Linked DNA regions of Homo sapiens: regions 1, 2, 3, 4, 5 and 7 are each linked to region 6. The links are contacts of gene promoters, found by promoter capture Hi-C in blood cells and fetal thymus (Javierre and others, 2016). All regions are on one chromosome and are shown on one strand. Each heading gives the region's core, a stretch centred on a gene start or on the middle of the fragment in contact. The rest is flanking DNA. Distances are from core to core; before and after follow the strand shown. Region 1 overlaps TARS3 (threonyl-tRNA synthetase 3). Region 2 has its middle 14 kb from the start of TARS3. Region 3 overlaps TARS3 (threonyl-tRNA synthetase 3). Region 4 overlaps LRRK1 (leucine rich repeat kinase 1). Region 5 overlaps TARS3 (threonyl-tRNA synthetase 3). Region 6 holds the start of SNRPA1 (small nuclear ribonucleoprotein polypeptide A'). Region 7 has its middle 12 kb from the start of LINC02348.

Region 1 (2,765 bases), core at 21-2,520, 400 kb before region 6:
TTATATGTGTGTGCAGTAAATATTAAGCAATAGCAGATGACATTTGAAATGCAATTTTTGTTTCAATCTAGGAACAAGAACTTTTCTTTTTCCACGATTTGAGTCCTGGAAGCTGTTTTTTCCTTCCCAGAGGAGCCTTCATTTATAATACGCTTACAGATTTCATACGAGTAAGTTAACTTTAAAATGTTTTATTCTTATTCAATTCCAGTTTACATTTTTACTATTTTCTCTCATAATAAAGTGGTCAAGCGTTTCCATTAACTTTACTTTGGTAACATTAATAAGAATTTTGAGGTTAAAAGTGAGATACTGGCCAGACACGGTGGCTCACACCTATAATCCCAGCACTTTGGGAGGCCAAGGTGGGCAGATCACCTGAGGTCAGGAGTTCGAGACCAGCCTGGCCAACATGGTGAAACCCTGTCTCTACTAAAAATACAAAAATTAGCCGAGTGTGGTGGTGCACACCTGTAATCCCAGCTACTTGGGAGGCTGGCAGGAGAATTGCTTGAACCCGGGAGGCAGAGTTTGCAGTGAGCCAGGATTGTGCCACTGCGCTCCAGCCTGGTGACAGAGCAAGACTCCATCTCAAAGAAAAAAAAAAAAAAAGTGAGGTACTAGATTGTACCTTCTAATAATAACATGGAGATAATTTCTGTTTCCCCTGAATACATTCCTGGATTTCATAAAATTCACTTTTTGTCCATATAAGTTTCTAAACCATGTAGAATATAAAGGTAAGCATTAGACTAAGTGTGGCACTCCCTGTGAAAAAGAAGAAAGGAGAAAGTGTCGTCTCTGGTACAGAGTGTTAAGCCATGAAGCATTGCTTCTCCAAATGTGCTCCATGGGCCACTGATGCTTCCCTTTGCCTATAGCATGACTCCCAGGTGATTTGGCAGTTCCAGAGGAAAGAGGAAAAAACCAACAGTGCAAAATACCTACTTGTATTACAAGTTCATAGGTGGGAAAGTCTTTAGTATTTACATGATAAGGACTGTGTAGATAGTGTTCACAGGTGATCCGGGTGGACTACTGGGATTACATTTCCATGCTTGCACTGTTTTGTCTTTCCTATAATCATTACCTAAATTTTTCATTTACTTAGTTTTTTTATGTGCCTACCACTAATTCATGCTCCAATTTCTCTCAAAAACTACAAATCTCCTTGCAACATATTCTGCAATGATTCAGGTAATTGCTCAGTAATTTTTTTTTTCAAATTTGGTCCTACTCCAGAATTAACTTGCTACTAAGATTCTTGCAAACTGATGGCTTAGGACTTCTTTTCATCATCATCTTGGCCACTCCCCTCATGTCTCTTCCTATGCTGAGTCTCTTTTCCTGGTCCCTGTATATCTCTTCGTTGCTTATCTTTAATTCTCATTTGGGGATCACTTTCTTCAGTAACTTTCTGAGAAGACAATCCATGGCATGTGGCCTGCACTGGTTATTCTCTGTTTGCTTCTCCAGTCTTGTTCTCCGTCTTTTTCTTCTTGTGCTGTGCCCCTGGAGGCTGACATGTCTGTATTCTATCACCTGGGGTACACATCTTCCAGTAGGGACTGGCCAATGCGAGGCAATGGTAGGAGATCAGAGGGCAGTGGAAGAGACTTGAAGAATCACTGAAGATTATCAGAGATTTACATTTAGGCAGGTGGTGATGACCATCACAGCTGCTGATTTGGATGTGCTGTCTTCTCTGGAAAATCAGCATGGCCCCTGGCACCTTGTACTCTCAAGTTGGGAGTACAATAGATGGAGAATGAACAGAAAGCCTTTACAGTGGCATTAAGGGGATCTCTTATTTTTTATAGATGCAAGACAGATGTGGCTGATGAACAGGAGCAGGGCCTGATTGTGAGGGTCACCAAACTGTAAAGGCACTTAAATGCACAAACCCAGTGATCTCTTATTCTAAGGTAAGGGCACTGGTTGGGAAGGGTCCCTGAGGCTTGGAATGGGAATATTTGACAGACACAGGCGACACTGAGAACTTTGCATTTCTGGATACCTTTGTCTGAAGGAATTGGCCTTACCATGAAAAAAACCTTTTGGAGAACTCAGCTGTTTTTTCTGTTGGTTTTTTGTTATTATGGTTGTGTCACTTCCCATATCAAGTAATATTTTGTTAGATGCCAAGTATTACATGTAATTTAGGTGTAGAGGCTCTAGATGATATCTCCCACTGGAGCATTCACCCTCTGCCACTATTAAGGACTGATCATTGAATTCGATCAGAGATTGCACTGGGTTAGGGCCGGCTTCCACTTTAATAAGATTCAACTTTTGATTCCTGTTTCTAGGTCATGACCCCCTTGGGTTTCCACTTGACAGGCTGGTGGGTTTATGTCTTTTCAGCCCCAAAGGACTGTAGGGAAGTCCATTCTACTCTTCCAAAGTGTTCTATTCTTAACAAATAATTCCAAGGCTCATCTAATTACTACATTGGCTCAAAAATCCAGGACATCTTCTGAATCAGGCCTAGCTGCAGATGAGGCTCCTCGGGTGCAGTTTGTTGGGAACAGATTATCAAGTACATTTCCTCTACAGTTTAAGACCTGTGAACTAAAAACTCAAGTTATCTATCAGCCACCTCATCCTCTCATCTCCCTCACATTGTAAAATGGTGCTTGAGGAATAATGCAATAGATAGTCTTACTCAAAAAGGAGTGGGGTAGAGTAGGAGGCACATGGTAGTCACCATCTGTAGAAATTCTGGTATCTACCGGTCATCACTGCCCCAGGGTCAAAAGATACAC
Region 2 (2,700 bases), core at 1-2,500, 440 kb before region 6:
GGACTACAGGCATACAACCACCATGTCCAGCTAAATTTTGTATTTTTTGTAAAGATAGGGTTTCACCATGTTGGCCAGGCTGGTCTCAAACTCCTGACCTCAGGTGATCCACCTGCCTCCACCTCCCAAAGTGCTGGGATTACAGGCGTGAGACACCATGCCCAGCCTGCCCTTCCTTTTTAAACCTTTCCTGTGCATAGTGAAGAATACCATGACTAGTTTGGTGTTACTGCCTCTGTTTGTGCTAAAGTACCAGCATTTTTACCCACTATTGTATTTGCACCCTTAAAGCAAATGTCACCATGTTAGTGTTCCTGTTAAAATAGTTTGGACCTGGGCATCTGAGGGCCCCACTTTGGGAACCGTTGAAATAGGTAGTTAAACCTACTATATATCATATCTTTTCATCTACAAGATTTTTAAAAACATGATTTCAGTTCATTTATTTTTATAATTTTTAAAATATGGTTTTGAGGGGTTTCAGTCCAGAATAACAACACGTATTTTATTTTGCTTATGCTGAAGTTTACTAGACAAATACTAACCTAATAGAATGAGGTCCTAAATCTAGTTGCAGTTTCTTTAGCCAAAAAAAAAAAAAAAAAAAAACAACCCAAAACTAAACACATAAAAATGGTCCATAGGGTGTATTCCCAATGCATGTTGAAGAATTTGAAGAAGAAAATGCAATACTCAGTAAGTGGTGTTCTTCATGAATAGGATTAATTCTGAAGAGTTTCTTTTAGCCTGTAAAGAGATTTGGGACATAGTAAGAGAGGAATGAGAAGAATGAGAATAGTAAAATAAACCATTATTGAAGAGATATACTGTTAATGATGTCCTCCTTCCAGAAAACTTGTTTTTCTTTTTTCTTTTTTTTGGGGGGTGGACAGAGTCTTTCTCTGTCACCAGGCTGGAGTGCAGTGGTGCAATCTCAGGTCACTGCAACCTCTGCTTCCCTGGTTCAAGTGATTCCCCTGTGTCAGCCTCCTGAGTAGCTGGGACTACAGGCGCATGCCATCACGCCCCGCTAATTTTTTTTTTATTTTAGTAGAGACAGGGTTTCTTGATCAAGACAGGATGGTCTTGATCTCCTGACCTCGTGATCCACCCACCTCGGCCTCCCAGAATGCTGGGATTACAGGCATGAGCCATCACGCCCGGCCAACTTGTTTTTCTTAAAAGAACCTTTGGTAAATAATTGGTTTCTGTGGCTTCAGCTATAATTCAGATTACAGTTTTCAAAGCAGTGTTTCCTAAAGTTTGTGCGAAATTGTTTTCCATGACTTGAACCTAGTTGTTGTGAAGCTAATATATAATAATAATGGCTTCTCCCCAATTTATAATAGGAAACAGTAGAAAGTAACAGAGTAAATGTCTGTTAGTGGTAAAAGCACATAATGCTTAGTTCATTAGCTTTTTAAAAAAAATCACATGTAATTGTGTTCCAAAAATACATGTATAGCAATGGCATTTCTTGGTATTACTTGGTTTGTGTGATAGAATAAAATATTAGAATTTTATGGTGTTTGAATTAGTTATCTATTGCTCTGTAACAAATTTAGCAGCTTAAAACAACAAACATTATCTCACAGTTTCTGTGGGTCAGGATTCTGTGCAGTTTACCTTGGGTTCACTTGCTTGGCCTCTCACCAGGCAGTGAAGGTGTTGGTGGCGGCTATGATCATCCCAAGGCAGGATAGGGAGGGAATCCATCTCCAAGCTCACTCACGTATATGTTGGCAGGATTTATCTCACAGGCTGTTGTACTGGGCCTCTGTTTCTAGATGACTATTGGTCAGAGGGCTTTTACAATACCTTGTCACGTGGGCCTCTCCATAGGGCACCTCATCACATGGCAACTGGCTTCCATCAGAGGGAGCAATGGAAAGAGCAGGAGAAGGGTGACCAAGGCAGGCATCGTTTTGTCCTTGTAGCCTCATCTCAGAAGTGATGTTATTACTTCTGTTGCATTCTCTTTGTTAGAAGTGAGTCACTAGGTCCAGAGGTGGGAATTTTACAAGGGTGTGAATGCCAGGAGGTGAGGGTGATTGGGGCCATTTAGAGGCTGCCTACCAGTGCTGAAGAAAATTATTGACTTCTATGAGCTGTAGTAGCAGACAGTGCTATGCAAAGAGAATGGCTGCCTCAAAAGTCCAACTCCTCACATTGGTTTTAATGTGTTGCCTTTTCCCCCCCATACATTTTGTTTAAATCCATGTTAATCTTGCCATTTAGTGGTGTGGTTTAATTGCATATTTGGGTTAGTCTGTATGTAAATGTTTAACATAGGTGTCTCTGTGCTAAACAGGAATCCTCTTCATCTTTCTCACCAATATGTTTTGTGGACTCTGACGAGCCAAATCTGACATCAGTTCTGGAACATCTAGAAGATACTAAGAACAACCATTCAGTGAAGAGAGAAGCCAAGCTATTTTCTCTTTTCCTCATGAACATTATATTTAGAAATTAAATGTTAAGAGATAATATGATATAATGTTAAGAGATAATATGATATAAAAGCATGATTAATGACTATAATCTTAGAGGAATTAAAGTCTGGGTATTTTAAGTCCTTCAAATCTTATTTACTACCTGGTTTCTCTTTATTATTTCCCACATGTATAACCTTAGTTTAGATTAGGAATTCAAGATCTCCTTTTCCTGAATGCTAACCATTAAGCCAAGCAAGCATTTTGG
Region 3 (2,851 bases), core at 236-2,735, 430 kb before region 6:
TTTGGTTGGTTTTTTTTTGTTTTTTGAAGGCGGAGGTTTGCTCTTGTTGCCCAGGCTAGAGTGCAATGGCATGATCTCGGTTACTGCAGCCTCCACCTCCCAGGTTCAAGCGATTCTCCTGCCTCAGCCTCCTGAGTAGCTGGGACTACAGGTGCATGCCACCAAGCCCGGCTAATTTTTTTTTTTTTTTTTTTTTTTTTTTAGTAGAGATGGGGTTTCACCGTGTTAGCCAGGAGGATCTCGATCTCCTGACCTCATGATCCGCCCACCTTGGCTTCCCAAAGTGCTGGGATTACAGGCGTGAGCCACCGCCCCCGGTCTTTTTTTTTTTTTTGTATTCGAGAAACTAGCTACTTTGCTTTTGTATATAAAGCATTAAAACAATCAGTAAGTATTTATCTAGCATCAACATTTGGTAGGAGTGAAGAAGGAATACCTAGGCCCAAAGAAGTTAGTCTGGTTGAGGAATTCAGGCAGACTCAGGACAAACAACTAGAGAACAGAGTACGATGGTATACAAGTAAGTGCTGTAATGTGTGACTCTGTACACGTTCTGTAAACAGTAGAAAAGGGAGGTGTCATGGGGGCTGGGCGTGGGGCTGTCTCAAAGGAAAAAAAAAAAAAAAAGGGAGATGCCAGCGGGTAAAATAGGTAGAGGAGGCAGGCTTTGAGGTGGACCTTTAGAGCTAAGGAGAAGTTAGATAGGCAGAGAGGAGCCTTTTGGAGGTGGGAAGTACACATGCTCTTAGTCTTACAGTTGGGTTATGTCCCAATAAAACCAATGTGAGTTAAAAATGTATTTAATACACGTAAGCTAGTGATCATCGTAGTTTAGCCTAGCCTACATTAAAAGTGCTCAGAACACTTAGATTAGCTTACAGTTGGGCAAAATCCTCTAACATAAAGCCTATTTTATTATGAAGTGTTGAATATCTCATGTAATTTATTGAATACTGTACTGAGTGAAAAACACAATGGTTGTATGGATACTCAAAGTACAGTTTCTACTGAATGCATATGACTTTCACATCACTAAAGTTGAAAAATTGCGGCTGGATACGGTGACTCACGCCTGTAATCCCAGCATTTTGGGAGGCCAAGGCAGGTAAATCATTTGAGGTCAGGAGTTCGAGACCAGCCTGGCCAACATGGCGAAACCCCATCTCTACTACAAATACAAAAATTAGTCTGGCAGGGTGGTGCGTGCCTGTAATCCCAGCTACTCGGGTGGCCGAGGCAGGAAAATCGCTTGAACCTAGGAGACAGAGGCTGCAGTGAGCTGATTTCGTGCCCCTGCACTCCAGCCTGGGCGACAAAGCAAGACTCCATCTCAAAACAACAGCAACAACAACAACAAACCAAAAAACAACAACAACAACAAAATCGTAATTCAAACCATGGTAAGCTTGGGACCATCTGTAGAACTGAGAAGGCAGTAAGGGGGTGAGCCTGATTCAGAGCTGAGCAGCTGGAAAACAGTAGGCTGTATATATTAATCTCATTATGTTCTAATAATTTCCAGGTGAAGCATCAACCAATTTTCATAAAAGAAAGATTGAAGCTTTTTGAAATACTGAAGAAAGACCATCAGCTCTTACTTGCCATTTATGGAAAAAAGGGGGATACAAGCAACATCATCACAGTAAGAGTGGCTGATGGGCAAACAGTGCAAGGGGAAGTCTGGAAAACAACGCCTTACCAAGTGGCTGCTGAAATTAGGTAAACCGCAGTGTGGAAAAGATATTCAATCTTAAGTAATTATACTGAAGCCTGGTGAAAATGTTTTCTTAGGGACCGCTAATATATTACTCCATTCTCACGATACTAAAAGGACATGTCTGAGACTGGGTTATTTATAAAGGAAGAAGATTTAATTGACTCACAGTTCCGCAGGGCTGGGGAGGCTTCAGGAAACTTACAGTCGTGGCAGAAGGGGAAGCAAGCATGTCCTTCTTCACATGGCAGCGGCAAGGAGAAGTGCAGAGCAAAGTGGGGGGAAAACCCCTTATAAAACCATCAGATCTCATGAGAATGCACTCACTATCAAAGAACAGCATGGAGGTAACAGCCCCTGTGATTCAGTTACCTCCCACTGGGTCCCTTCCACAAAACGTGGGGATTATGGGAACTAGAGTTCAAGATGAGGTTTGGATGGGCACACAGCCAAACCATATCAGCTAATTTTTTTTTTATTCAGTTGAATAAATTAAATGTATTTAATTTTTTTCCTCTGGCTTCTCCAAGGGCCATGTAAATAAGTAGTTGAATATCAGAACACAATCATTTCCTGTTCTAATAAAAATATATAGGAGAGAAAAAAATCTGTAATTCTTGATAGGCCATTTTACACTGACTTTATTCGTCAATCAAGTAATTTCCATGAGTTTTTACAGGTCTTTTAAGTATAGATTGAAGATAAATGTTTTAGAGCTATTATCAGTCTTGGAAAAGTGCTTTGACTTTTCTAGAAATTAGATACATTAGTGAACTTATATTGTTTTGACTCATGTTAATTCTTAGCATTAAATACAATTGTATAGAAGCTATTGTATAAATACAATTATATAGCTTCTATACAATTGTATTAATGCCATGTAAATAAATGTTCATCATTTAAAAAGCAAACTGTTTCAACAACTGAAATTCTCAGATTTTCTTTGAAAACTATGGCTAAGATTGTATTTCTGATTCATCCTATTATATTGTTAAATGCTCTCCCAGCCTGTTTTCATGTTTTCCAGGAGGAATGATGTGCTAGGAGAAAACAGGTTTTGAGGCAAGAATAAGTTTGTTTTCTCATGGAGAGTCAGGTTGCATGTTAAATGTGTTGGGTCAGTATTTCTCAAAGTGT
Region 4 (2,700 bases), core at 166-2,665, 370 kb after region 6:
TTTATAATTCCTGTCCTCCTCCCCTGCAAATATTTGCATGGGTTCATTTAGTTTTCCCTCTGCAACATTCCTTTTTGTAGTCCATCTATCCAGCCAAACCCATCAGGTGTGGTCAGTGGGAAGGCACAGCTCCCCCCATCCCATCTTGATGCGGGGCTCAGGTATTGTCTACCTGAGAAGAGTCTCAAACAAACCCCAGACAATTGGAAAACACATACTGGTAACAGCTTCAATCATTGTTCAGTCAACGCACACCTACTGTCACATGCAAGGTAGCCAGGCTCTGTGTGAGGCTCAGTGGCACCAAGATGGCTCAAGGAGGCTCTTGCCCTCAGGGGCACACTCCAGTGGGGGTAGGGCAGACATAGTTAAGGTTAGTCACGATACAAGGCTCTCCTTTTGCCCGGGGCCAGTTCTTCTGGAAGCCAGAGGTGAGCACGTCATCCCAAGGGGGTGGTCAGGCAACAGTTCCAAAGACATGGAATTATTACTGGTTATGAAGTCAAGTTAGCATGAGCTTTAGCAGAAAGCTAAATGACGGAGGTTAGCAGACATGAGCCTCAAAAATTCTGCCCCTTTCCCAGGGGACATTTGGCAATGTCTGGAGACATTTTTGGTTGCCACAACTTGGCTGGGGGAGAGTGCTACAGGCCTCTAATGGGTAGAGGTCAATGATGCTGCTAAACATCCTACAATGTACAGGACTGCTATTTGCAACAAAGAATTATCTGGCCCCAAAAGTTCCAGGGTGGAGTTAGACTAATCTCTGAAACTAATGACTATGATAAACTGAGACCAAGTGCTGCTCTTCTATGCTGGGCCCCCACTGAGCTTAGAGTCCCCCCATGGGCATAAGTGCCCATCCTGGTATGGTGATTGAAGGACCAGAGGGAGGGTAAGACCCATGCCTAGCTCAGGCCTGACATGAGGTACTACCATAAGTAATGCATGTGCGCCTATCCTTGTTCTTATAGCATATCCTACATGTGATGAAGTACGAGGTAATTAGCACCTCTTGTCTGTGTTCTCTCAGATAGACAACTCTGAAATGGGGAGTGATAGTGCAGCCAAAAATATATTTTTTAAATCAAGGTTATATAAAAATAATGCCTAAGAGAATCTGTACAGGCAAAAGCATAGCGTGGACGTTAAAGGTGTGGACTGCCTGTGTCACATGTTCGCAGTGTGACTCCCAGCTGAAAGGTATGTGTGTCTCAGTTTTCACCTGTTAAAAATAGACATCCACCCTTATGCCCGGGCCTGCTAGTGGGGTTACTGTGTGAATTCAACCAAAGTGAAGTTTCTGCAGCCTCTCTCTACGACAGGGCTGGGGTGGTCATTACCTGTAGTACCAGCGCACAGACTTGGAGGCCAGCGGGTCTCCCACTTCCCTGCTAATTAATAAGATCAGAATATCAATGCTGGAGGGCAGATGCCAGCCTCACCAGCGGGTAGGTTCTAGAAGATGCCGTGAGCAGTAGGGGCACGAAGTAAGGTACAGGACAAGGCTGTGGGAATTTCTCACCTAAAAGCCTAGAACTCAGGCACCTGGCCCAGGTGGACTGGACTCGTCAAGGCAGGGAAAGGTGGAGCTAGAAAAGCCAGGCTCCAGCAGCCTTGTGCAAGCTGCACATGTTTCAGAGGCAAAAGGGATGGTCGACACAAACCACGTGTGGGAAACACCTGTGTTTGAAGTTGGGAAGCCTGAAAAGTCGAAGGAGGAAAGGAAAAACGATCAATCTGGGCAAAATTTAGGGGATGATGAAAGCCTTATAAATAGCAAAACCTGATTTGGAAAATCAACTTGTGACAGAGAGAGGAAGAGCCAGCAAGACAGAATCTGTTTTAAAATAAACGTTCCGATCACACATTCACATCCAGAAACTGAGAAGCACAGTTGCCATCTGCTTTCAGACACCTCTCCAAAACAGCTACCGCACATAACCAACAGCATTTCAAAAATCCAAACGCTAGACATTCTTCCTGAAAACAGAAGTGTCTTACCATACAATGTTTTTAAGTTCTAAAAAAAAAAAAATCTTAAAATTATTTCAGGCTAACCCTCACCCAGCACATTTTGTTCCCCTTTTCATTTTCAGTTTCCTTTTGAAAATCACTTTACCAGTGGAAGACTCTGCCCCTGGAGCAGTTTTAAAATTCTAGTTACTATTTTGGCTTATATTCTAAGGTAGAAGTTTTAAGATGAGGTAATTCAAATTTTGCTCAATCTTTGCCCTCAAACGGATCTTTGCTTCCTCCTGCTTCTTTTGGGTCCAGAGAGGTGCCAACAAGTGATGATTACAAGTTACATGTCTTCATTATACACCCTAAAGAGGGCATCAAGAGGTTTTCAGCAGTAATGATGGTTTAAATGATTTTTCAAAACCTCATCAATTTCCTTTTGCCAACTATTTATACCTGCATTAATGAATAAACCTAAACATTTAATGGAAAAGAAAATAGATGGGTGCGGTGGTTCACGCTTGTAATCCCAGCTCTTTGGGAGGCCGAGGAGAGTGGATCACTTGAGGTCAGGAGTTCGAGATCACCCTGGCCAATATGGTAAAAACCCATCTCTACTAAAATTACAAAAATTAGCTGGGCATGCTGGTGGGCGCCTGTAATCCCAGCTACTTGGGAGGCCGAGGCATGAGAATCACTTAAACTGGGGGAGGTGGAGGTTGCAGTGAGCCAAGATTG
Region 5 (2,803 bases), core at 198-2,697, 380 kb before region 6:
AGATATATCATAGTAAACTGAAAACTAAAGACAAAGGAAAGGCTTGAAAGCAATGAGAGAGAAATTATGCATTACCTTTAAAGAGAAAAACAATTTGAATGATAGCAATTTCTCATTAAAAAACAAAAAACAAAAATCCTGGAGGCCAGAAGGAAGTGGCACAATACTTTTAAAGTGCTGAAAAAAGAAAAAGGAATTTTCAACCCAGAATTCTATGTCTAAAGAAAATACCCTTCAGCAATTGAGGGGAAATCAAGACATTGGACCCACCAAAAGAATGGCTGTAGGAAGTTTTCTAAACAGAAAGGAAATGATGAAAAGAGGAATCAGGGAACTTTAGGAAGAAAAAGATTGTGAAAATAAAAACAGGTAAATACAATATATTTTCCTTCTCCTTTTGCGTTTTCTAAATTATGTTTGATCATTGAAGTAAAAATCACATGTTCTTTCTGATGTTCTAAATGTATGTAGAAGAAATGTTTAAGAAAATTATACTATAAATGGGGTAAGGTATAGGGAATAAAAGTTTTTGTACTTCACCTGAGCTGGTAAAGTGACAATATCTGGACTGATAAGTTATATAATACCTAGAGAAACCAATAAAAAAAAAAGCTATAGACAGGGATACACTAAGAGAACCTATAGATAAATTGGAATTGAATTCCAGAAAAATGTTAAAGTAATCCATAGGAAGACAGGAAAAATAAAACAGAAATGAATAACAAGAGAGAACAAGAAGGAAACAAAAAGGCAGTGTAAAGCCCTAACATATTAAGTGTAAATGGTCTAAATAAACCAATTAAAAGAGATTGACATAGTAGATTAAAAAATATGACCCAGGCTGGGTGAGGTGGCTCATGCCTGTAATTCCAGCACTTTGGGAGGCTGAGGCAGGCAGATCATGAGGTCAGGAGTTCAAGACCAGCCTGACCAACATGGTGAAACCCCATCTCTACTAAAAATACATAAATTAGCTGGGTGTGGTGGCACACACCTGTAATCCCAGCTATCAGGATGCTGAGGCAAGAGAATCGCTTGAACTTGGGAGGCAGAGGTTGCAGTGAGCCGAGATCATGCCACTGCACTCCAGCCTGGGTGACAGTGATACTCCATCTCAAAAAAAAAAAAAAAATGACCCCCAAAAAAAAAGAAGTCCCATGATATGCCAATTAAAAGCTGGAGAAAGGCCAGGCATGGTAGCACACACCTGTAGTCCCAGCACTTTGGGAGGCTGAGGTGGGTGGATCACCTGAGGTTGGGAGTTCGAGACCAGACTGACTAACATGGAGAAACCCTGTCTCTACTAAAAATACAAAATTAGCCAGGCTTGGTGGCACGTGCCTGTAATCCCAGCACTTTGGGAGGCTGAGGTGGGTGGATCACCTGAGGTTGGGAGTTCGAGACTAGACTGACTAACATGGAGAAACCCTGTCTCTACTAAAAATACAAAATTAGCCAGGCGTGGTGGCATGTGCCTGTAATCCCAGCTACTCAGGAGGCTGAGACAGGAGAATTGCTTGAACCCGGGAGGTGGAGGTTGTGGTGAGCTGAGACTGTGCCATTGCACTGCAGCCTGGGCAACAAGAGCAAAACTCCGTCTCAAAAAAAAAAAAAAGCTGGAGAACTAGGAAAGCTGATGGTATAACTCCCAGTCTAAGGCCAAAAGCCTCAGTGGGGTGAGCAAAGGAGGGAGCTGGTGTAAGTCCCAGAGTTGGTGGGCCTGAGAACCAGGAGCTCCAGTGTCTGAGAACAGGAGAAAATAAATGTCCCAACTCAAAAAGAGAGAGAATTTGCCTTTCCTCTGCCTTTGAGTTCTATTCCTGCCCTCAACAGATTGGATGAGGCCCACCCACATTGGTGAGGGTGGAAGTTGTTTACCAATTCCACTGATTCAGATGCTCATCTCTTCGAGAAACGCACTCACAGGCATTCCCAGAAATAAATGTTGTAAGGGTGGCCAGCTGTCTGGCATCTTTTAGCTCAGTCGAGTTAACACTTAAAAGTAGCCATCACAAGCCATTATCCTCAGCAAACTAACACAGGAATAGAAAACCAAACTCCATATGTTCTCACTTATAAGTGGGAACTGAACAATGAGAACAGATGGACACAGGGAGGGGAACAACACACACTGGGGCCTGTCGGAGGGAAGAGGAGGGAGGGAGAGCATCAGGATAAATAGCTAATGCATTCTGGGCTTAAATACTTAGGTGACGGGTTCATAGGTGGAGCAAACCACCATGGCACACATATACCTATGTAACAAACTACACATCCTGCACGTGCACCCAGGAACTTAAAAAAAAAAAAAAAAGGGTGTAGTGGCTCATGCCTATAATCCCAGCACTTTGGGAGGCTGAGGCAGGTGGGTCACTTGAGGCCAGGAGTTCGAGACCAGCCTGGCCAACATGGCGAAACCCCTTCTCTACTAAAAAAAAAAAAATACAAAAATTAGCCGAGCATGGTGGCGAGCACCTGTAGTTCCAGCTACTCGGGAGCCTGAGGCATGAGAACCGCTTGAACCCGAGAGGCAGAGGTTGCAGTGAGCCAAGACCACACCACTGCATTCCAGCCTGGGTGACAGAGCAAGACTGTCTCAAAAAACAAAACAAAACAAAAAACTAGCCATTGCAGTTAATGAATGAAAGACTTGATGTCTCAAATCCATCAAATTCCCTGCATTTCAGCTGCCTCTCTCTGGTTTAAGCCACTGTCATCTTGCTCCTAATTGACTCAGCCAGCTTCCTGATGGGGCTCTCTTCTAATCTTGCCAGTTCATTCCACATACTGTGAAAGAACACAT
Region 6 (2,700 bases), core at 147-2,646:
CACCATTAAGAGTGAAAAGGCAAGCCACAGAGTGTGTTCATATCCCTAATATATAAAGAAATTCCACAAATCAATAAGAAAAAAGGCAGACAACTCCATAAGGAAAAAAAAAAAATGAGCCAGGGACTCGAAAGAACACTTAACCAAGGAAGCTATCAGAATGGGCACCATACACATGAGAAGGTTCTCAGCTTCATTAGTTATTAGAGAAAAGCAAAGCAAAGCAGTAGTGCAATACCACCACACACCCATCAGAATAGCTGAAGTTATAGAGTTAAAATGCCAAGAAGGCTGAAGCTGGAAGCCATGAAAACCCTTACACACCGCTGGAGTGTGTATATTATTTCAGCCTCTTAGCATAACTGTTGGGCATTACTTATTGATGATAGATATACCCTATGTCCCAGCAGTCCCACTCCAGGACAAACTCATGCAAACGTGCATCAGAACCACGTACCAGAAAATTCATAGTAGCATTACTCAGAATAGCCCTAACTGAAAACAACTTTGATGTCTATCAACAGCAGAATAAGTAATTTATGGTATAATATATACAATGGAATTCTCTTCAGCAGCAAAAGCAAACAAACCATCTCTGTATGCAACCTGGATGGACTCCAGACATAATATAGACTCCATGAAACTAGGCCAAAAAAAAAAGCATACTGCATGATTCTATTTATAGCAAAAGCAAGCAAACCGAATTTGTAGTGTTGAGTTCGCGGTTGCCTTTTGGGAAAGAGGGAGGCTTTCAGAATAGCGGTGTTTTGGATCCCGGTGTCGGCTACGCAGCTGTGTTCACTCTGGTCATTAATCACTGTAAATTCCTGATATGCACACTTTTATGTATATCACATTTCATACATATGAATATTCAGAAGTCTAAAGGTCACAAGCTTAACCGCAAACCCTACCGTGCCCGAGGCCGGGCTGGACTTGCGGGGCGGTGGGGTTGTCCCGGCGACCTGCCCCAGGCGGGCCACCTAGCCCGGGATCTCACACTGTAGCCCGGAGCCAAGGCCCAGGCCCGGGGCGGGCACCTGAACTGCTGGACCCTTCACTGAACCCCACGGGTTCCCGCGACGGCTGGTGGAGGGAGGACAGTCACCGCTTCCCCTCCCACCTCGAGGTGCGCTAATGCATGAGAAAGTTCCCCTCGGGTGTTTCCACATTCGCCTTAACTTTTAAACACCAACGTCTGGAATCAGGGGTCCTCCAGACTCCGAAACACACCCTAGGAAACAACCCAGAACGAGACACATCCCCTGTGCGCGCGCCACGACTTCCGGCAAGAACGCCCCCGGAGGCGTGGCTCTTCGATTGCTTCGGCCTGGCGGTCGAGCTGCGCGCGCACTCGGCGGCTGCGATTGGTGCTGCCTGGCGGCGGGGCGCGGGGCACGCTGGGACGTCTCGCTGGCGGGAGGCCACGGGCTTTCCACAGCGCGGGGGAACGGGAGGCTGCAGGATGGTCAAGCTGACGGCGGAGCTGATCGAGCAGGCGGCGCAGTACACCAACGCGGTGCGCGACCGGGAGCTGGACCTCCGGGGTGAGTCCGGGGGCGTGGGCGGCCAGTCCCCAGGCGGCACCGAGCCGCCTTATTTTCCGCGCTTTGCCGCGTGCACCGAAGGCCGGAGCTTGGCCCGCGGGCCGGTTGTCTGGGCTCCGACCGGGCTGCGCAGGGAACGCCGGGCCTGATTCTTGCCGTTGTTGCCAGATGAGCATCCGGTTAAGCTCCTGGGAGCCTTCTGTTAGCGCCGTGCCTCTTGACAGGCACGGGTGACTTCATTACTTCCTGGTGCGTCCTCGTGGGGCCCTGTTAGGCCTTGCTTGGCTGTTTCGCCGCTGGCTGTTTGAGGGCCCGGAAGAGCGGCTCATTAATGGTTGTAACGCAAGTGCAGGGCGCGGGATTGGTTCTTAATACTTGCCGCCAGATGATATTTTGAGCGTAGATAGGATATGTGTTCATTATTCCTAATGTGAGGGAGGAAACTAAGTCCCCGAACAACCGCGATTGTTTCCTCCAGTATTTTCTACTTAGTAGCTTTAATTGTCTGGCGTTTCCCCTATATGAAGACGTTTTAAAAATTGAACTGTGTCACCCAGGCTTGCACCGCCGGGTGCTGTGTGTAAGTTGTGGAAGCGCTCGCAATTATTCAGATTCCTGTACTATTTCAACCTTAGCAAGACTTGGTAAGATACTGGGAGGGCAGCTAGCTAGTTGGCATTTCAGGAGACGGCTTTAAAAGGGACGTGATAGAGCAACTTCTCTGAGGATAAGACCATGCTGTCGTAGCCTGAGATTTGTTCCCATGGGGACCTATGGCCTCGGAGCAGCATCGCTGCGGGATCTGCTTAGATTTCTTGCCGACCTTTGGGAAATCCCACTGTTTTGTGTTGTGTTGTGTTGAGATGGAGTCTCGCTCTTTCCGCCCCAGCTGGAGCGCAGTGGCGTGATCTCGGCTCACTGCAACCGCCGCCTCCCCGGTTCAGGTGATTCCTGTGTCTCAAGCCTCCCGAGTAGCTGGGAATACAGGCATGCGCCACCACGCCCGGCTAATTTTTTGTATTTTTAGTAAAGACATGGTTTCTCCATGTTGGTCAGGCTGGTCTCGAACTCCCGACCTCAGGTGATCCGCCCGCCTTGGTCTCCCGAAGTGCTGGGATTACAGGCTTGAGCCACTGCGCCCGGCCCAACTCAC
Region 7 (2,710 bases), core at 18-2,517, 330 kb before region 6:
TTCAGGTACACCAATCAGACGTAGATTTGGTCTTTTCACATAGTCCCATATTTCTTGGAGGCTTTGCTCATTTGTTTTTATTCTTTTTTCTCTAAACTTCCCTTCTCACTTCATTTCATTCATTTCATCTTCCATCGCTGATACCCTTTCTTCCAGTTGATCGCATCGGCTCCTGAGGCTTCTGCATTCTTCACGTAGTTCTCGAGCCTTGGTTTTCAGCTCCATCAGCTCCTTTAAGCACTTCTCTGTATTGGTTATTCTAGTTATACATTCTTCTAAATTTTTTCCAAAGTTTTTCAACTTCTTTGCCTTTGGTTTGAATGTCCTCCCGTAGCTCAGAGTAATTTGATTGTCTGAAGCCTTCTTCTCTCAGCTCGTCAAAGTCATTCTCCATCCAGCTTTGTTCCGTTGCTGGTGAGGAACTGCGTTCCTTTGGAGGAGGAGAGGCGCTCTGCTTTCTAGAGTTTCCAGTTTTTCTGTTCTGTTTTTTCCCCATCTTTGTGGTTTTATCTACTTTTGGTCTTTGATGATGGTGATGTACAGATGGGTTTTCGGTGTGGATGTCCTTTCTGTTTGTTAGTTTTCCTTCTAACAGACAGGACCCTCAGCTGCAGGTCTGTTGGAGTACTGGGCCCTGTGAGGTGTCAGTCTGCCCCTGCTGGGGGGTGCCTCCCTGTTAGGCTGCTCAGGGGTCAGGGGTCAGGGACCCACTTGAGGAGGCAGTCTGCCGGTTCCCATATCTCCAGCTGTGTACTGGGAGAACCACTGCTCTCTTCAAAGCTGTCAGACAGGGACATTTAAGTCTGCAGAGGTTACTGCTGTCTTTTTGTTTGGCTGTGCCCTGCCCCCATAGGTGGAGCCTACAGAGGCAGGCAGGCCTCCTGGAGCTGTGGTGGGCTCCACCCAGTTCGAGCTTTAGGCTGCTTTGTTTACCTAAGGAAGCCTGGGCAATGGCGGGCGCCCCTCCCCCAGCCTCGCTGCCGCCTTGCAGTTTGATCTCAGACTGCTGTGCTAGCAATCAGTGTGACTCCGTGGGGTAGGACCCTCCGAGCCAGGTGCGGGATATAATCTCGTGGTGCGCCGTTTTTTAAGCGGGTCTGAAAAGCGCAATATTCGGGTGGGAGTGACCCGATTTTCCAGGTGCCGTCCGTCACCCCTTTCTTTGACTCGGAAAGGGAACTCCCTGACCCCTTGCTCTTCCCAAGTGAGGCAATGCCTCGCCCTGCTTCGGCTCGCGCACGGTGCACGCACCCACTGACCTGCGCCCACTGTCTGGCACTCCCTAGTGAGATGAACCCGGTACCTCAGATGGAAATGCAGAAATCACCCATCTTCTGCGTCGCTCACGCTGGGAGCTGTAGACCAGAGCTGTTCCTATTCGGACATCTTGGCTCCTCCCGTGGTAAGTTTTCTTTTCCTTTGTTTAGAGTTTCTATTTTTTCTTTTTTTTTTTCTCCCACAGTGTTACTATTTACTTTTTGGAGCATTTTTATGCTGGTTCCTTAAAACCCTTGTCAGACAATTATAGTATCTGTATTATCTTGGTGTTGCTGTCTGTTGTTTGCCTTTTTGCATTCAAATTGAGATGTCCTTGGTCATAGTGTGATGAGTAATTGTGGATTGTAACTAGGACATTCTGAGTGTTGTGTCATGAAGTTCTGGTTTCTATTTAAATCTTCTTTCAGCAGGCAGTCAACCTGTTTAGCTTCAGGATGCATGTTCCGGTACACTTTCATAGGCTGAGATTCAAATGCCAATTTAGTTTGCTACCCTGGTCTTCCCAGCTTATGTGCTGCCCAGAGGCCAATGTGAAATGATAGCAGTGTTTGACACTGCAGCTCAGTTCTCCAATCTTCTAATGTGTTGATTCTTATTAGGCATAGGCTGCTTGGGGGTCTGCCCAGGAATTAATACACAGGTTCTCTCCTCCGTAATCCTACCTACCCTGCTCTAATTGGGAGGGGAGGAGGTGCTGCCTCTTTGCTGCTGTTTGCTTCGTGCACGGTGGGGATGGTCACAGTCTATGCACCAGTGGAGTGGGAGAGAAGCATCACCTCTTTGCTGACATTTGCTTAGTGCAGCAGAGGGATGGTAGAAAGGATTCACTCTACAGTCTCCACAGTGATAGGTATTGGGGGAGGGGTGCCACTTCTACCCATGTTAGTGTAGGATCAGAATAGTTGAAAGGGCTTCACCCTGAAGTTTGCTCTGAGTCCTGGTGTAGAGGAGGAAGGGTTCTTTCTCCTTAATGCAAGACAGAAATGGCCAAACAGGTCTCCACTACAGTCTCTGATATGGTTTGTCTGTGTCCACACCCAAATCTCATCTTGAATTGTAGCTCCCATAATCTCCACATGTCATGGGAGGGACCCAGTGGGAGGTAATGGAATCATAAGGGCGGTTACCCTATGCTGCTGTTCTCATGACAGTGAGTGAGCTCTCATGAGATCTGATGGTTTTGTAAGGGGCTTTTCCCCTTTTTGCTTGGCACTTCTCCTTGATGCCACCATGTGAAGAAGGACATGTGTGCTTCCCCTTTTGCCATGACTGTAATTTCCTGAGGCCTCCTCAGCCATGCTAAGCTGTGAGTCAGTTAAACCTCTTTCCTTTATAAACTACCCAGTCACAGGGATGTCTTTATTAGCAGCAGGAGGACAAACTAACACGGTCTCCCTGACCATAGACTCCAAGTCGGGAGAAGAAAGGGTCC

What was found. Contacts are between HindIII fragments. The CHiCAGO score rates a contact against its expected background, and 5 or more counts as called.
Region 1: a fragment that was not itself captured here is called in contact with the fragment with the promoter of SNRPA1 in region 6 in 13 of 17 cell types (fetal thymus, megakaryocytes, naive B cells and 10 more); the score reaches 9.0 in fetal thymus.
Region 2: a contact is called between a fragment that was not itself captured here and the fragment with the promoter of SNRPA1 in region 6, in 3 of 17 cell types (endothelial precursors, naive CD4 T cells and fetal thymus). The highest score is 6.8, in endothelial precursors.
Region 3: a fragment that was not itself captured here is called in contact with the fragment with the promoter of SNRPA1 in region 6 in 17 of 17 cell types (fetal thymus, total B cells, total CD8 T cells and 14 more); the score reaches 23.9 in fetal thymus.
Region 4: a fragment that was not itself captured here is called in contact with the fragment with the promoter of SNRPA1 in region 6 in 2 of 17 cell types (total B cells and M1 macrophages); the score reaches 7.0 in total B cells.
Region 5: a contact is called between a fragment that was not itself captured here and the fragment with the promoter of SNRPA1 in region 6, in 13 of 17 cell types (megakaryocytes, M1 macrophages, erythroblasts and 10 more). The highest score is 10.3, in megakaryocytes.
Region 7: a contact is called between a fragment that was not itself captured here and the fragment with the promoter of SNRPA1 in region 6, in 14 of 17 cell types (megakaryocytes, M1 macrophages, erythroblasts and 11 more). The highest score is 14.5, in megakaryocytes.

The regions. Positions count from the first base shown.
Region 1 is chr15:101,698,491-101,701,255 of GRCh38, reverse strand. TARS3 (threonyl-tRNA synthetase 3) reads left to right here. Exons shown (of 19, transcript NM_152334.3): 10 at 72-170. Among named protein-coding and RNA genes, the nearest start is that of TARS3, 25 kb to the left of the region's middle. The HindIII fragment of the contact is 5,634 bases long and covers 1-2,765 here.
Region 2 is chr15:101,736,981-101,739,680 of GRCh38, reverse strand. It overlaps the pseudogene UBE2Q2P13. Among named protein-coding and RNA genes, the nearest start is that of TARS3, 14 kb to the right of the region's middle. The HindIII fragment of the contact is 3,409 bases long and covers 1-2,700 here.
Region 3 is chr15:101,719,994-101,722,844 of GRCh38, reverse strand. TARS3 (threonyl-tRNA synthetase 3) reads left to right here. Exons shown (of 19, transcript NM_152334.3): 3 at 1,523-1,719. Among named protein-coding and RNA genes, the nearest start is that of TARS3, 3.1 kb to the left of the region's middle. The HindIII fragment of the contact is 156 bases long and covers 1,408-1,563 here.
Region 4 is chr15:100,921,779-100,924,478 of GRCh38, reverse strand. The region is part of intron 1 of LRRK1 (leucine rich repeat kinase 1); the gene reads right to left. Among named protein-coding and RNA genes, the nearest start is that of LRRK1, 3.8 kb to the right of the region's middle. RefSeq lists an enhancer at 1-320. The HindIII fragment of the contact is 2,910 bases long and covers 1-2,700 here.
Region 5 is chr15:101,676,314-101,679,116 of GRCh38, reverse strand. All of the region lies in intron 12 of TARS3 (threonyl-tRNA synthetase 3), which reads left to right. Among named protein-coding and RNA genes, the nearest start is that of TM2D3, 25 kb to the right of the region's middle. RefSeq lists an enhancer at 2,523-2,803. The HindIII fragment of the contact is 5,094 bases long and covers 1-2,803 here.
Region 6 is chr15:101,293,944-101,296,643 of GRCh38, reverse strand. SNRPA1 (small nuclear ribonucleoprotein polypeptide A') reads left to right here and starts at 1,396. Exons shown (of 9, transcript NM_003090.4): 1 at 1,396-1,547. The coding sequence starts at 1,466. SNRPA1-DT (SNRPA1 divergent transcript) reads right to left here and starts at 1,296. Exons shown (of 2, transcript NR_186319.1): 1 at 915-1,296. RefSeq lists enhancers at 1,048-1,137, 1,198-1,247, 1,811-2,442 and a silencer at 1,478-1,667. The HindIII fragment of the contact is 2,362 bases long and covers 899-2,700 here.
Region 7 is chr15:101,625,140-101,627,849 of GRCh38, reverse strand. No RefSeq gene overlaps it. Among named protein-coding and RNA genes, the nearest start is that of LINC02348, 12 kb to the right of the region's middle. The HindIII fragment of the contact is 3,259 bases long and covers 1-2,710 here.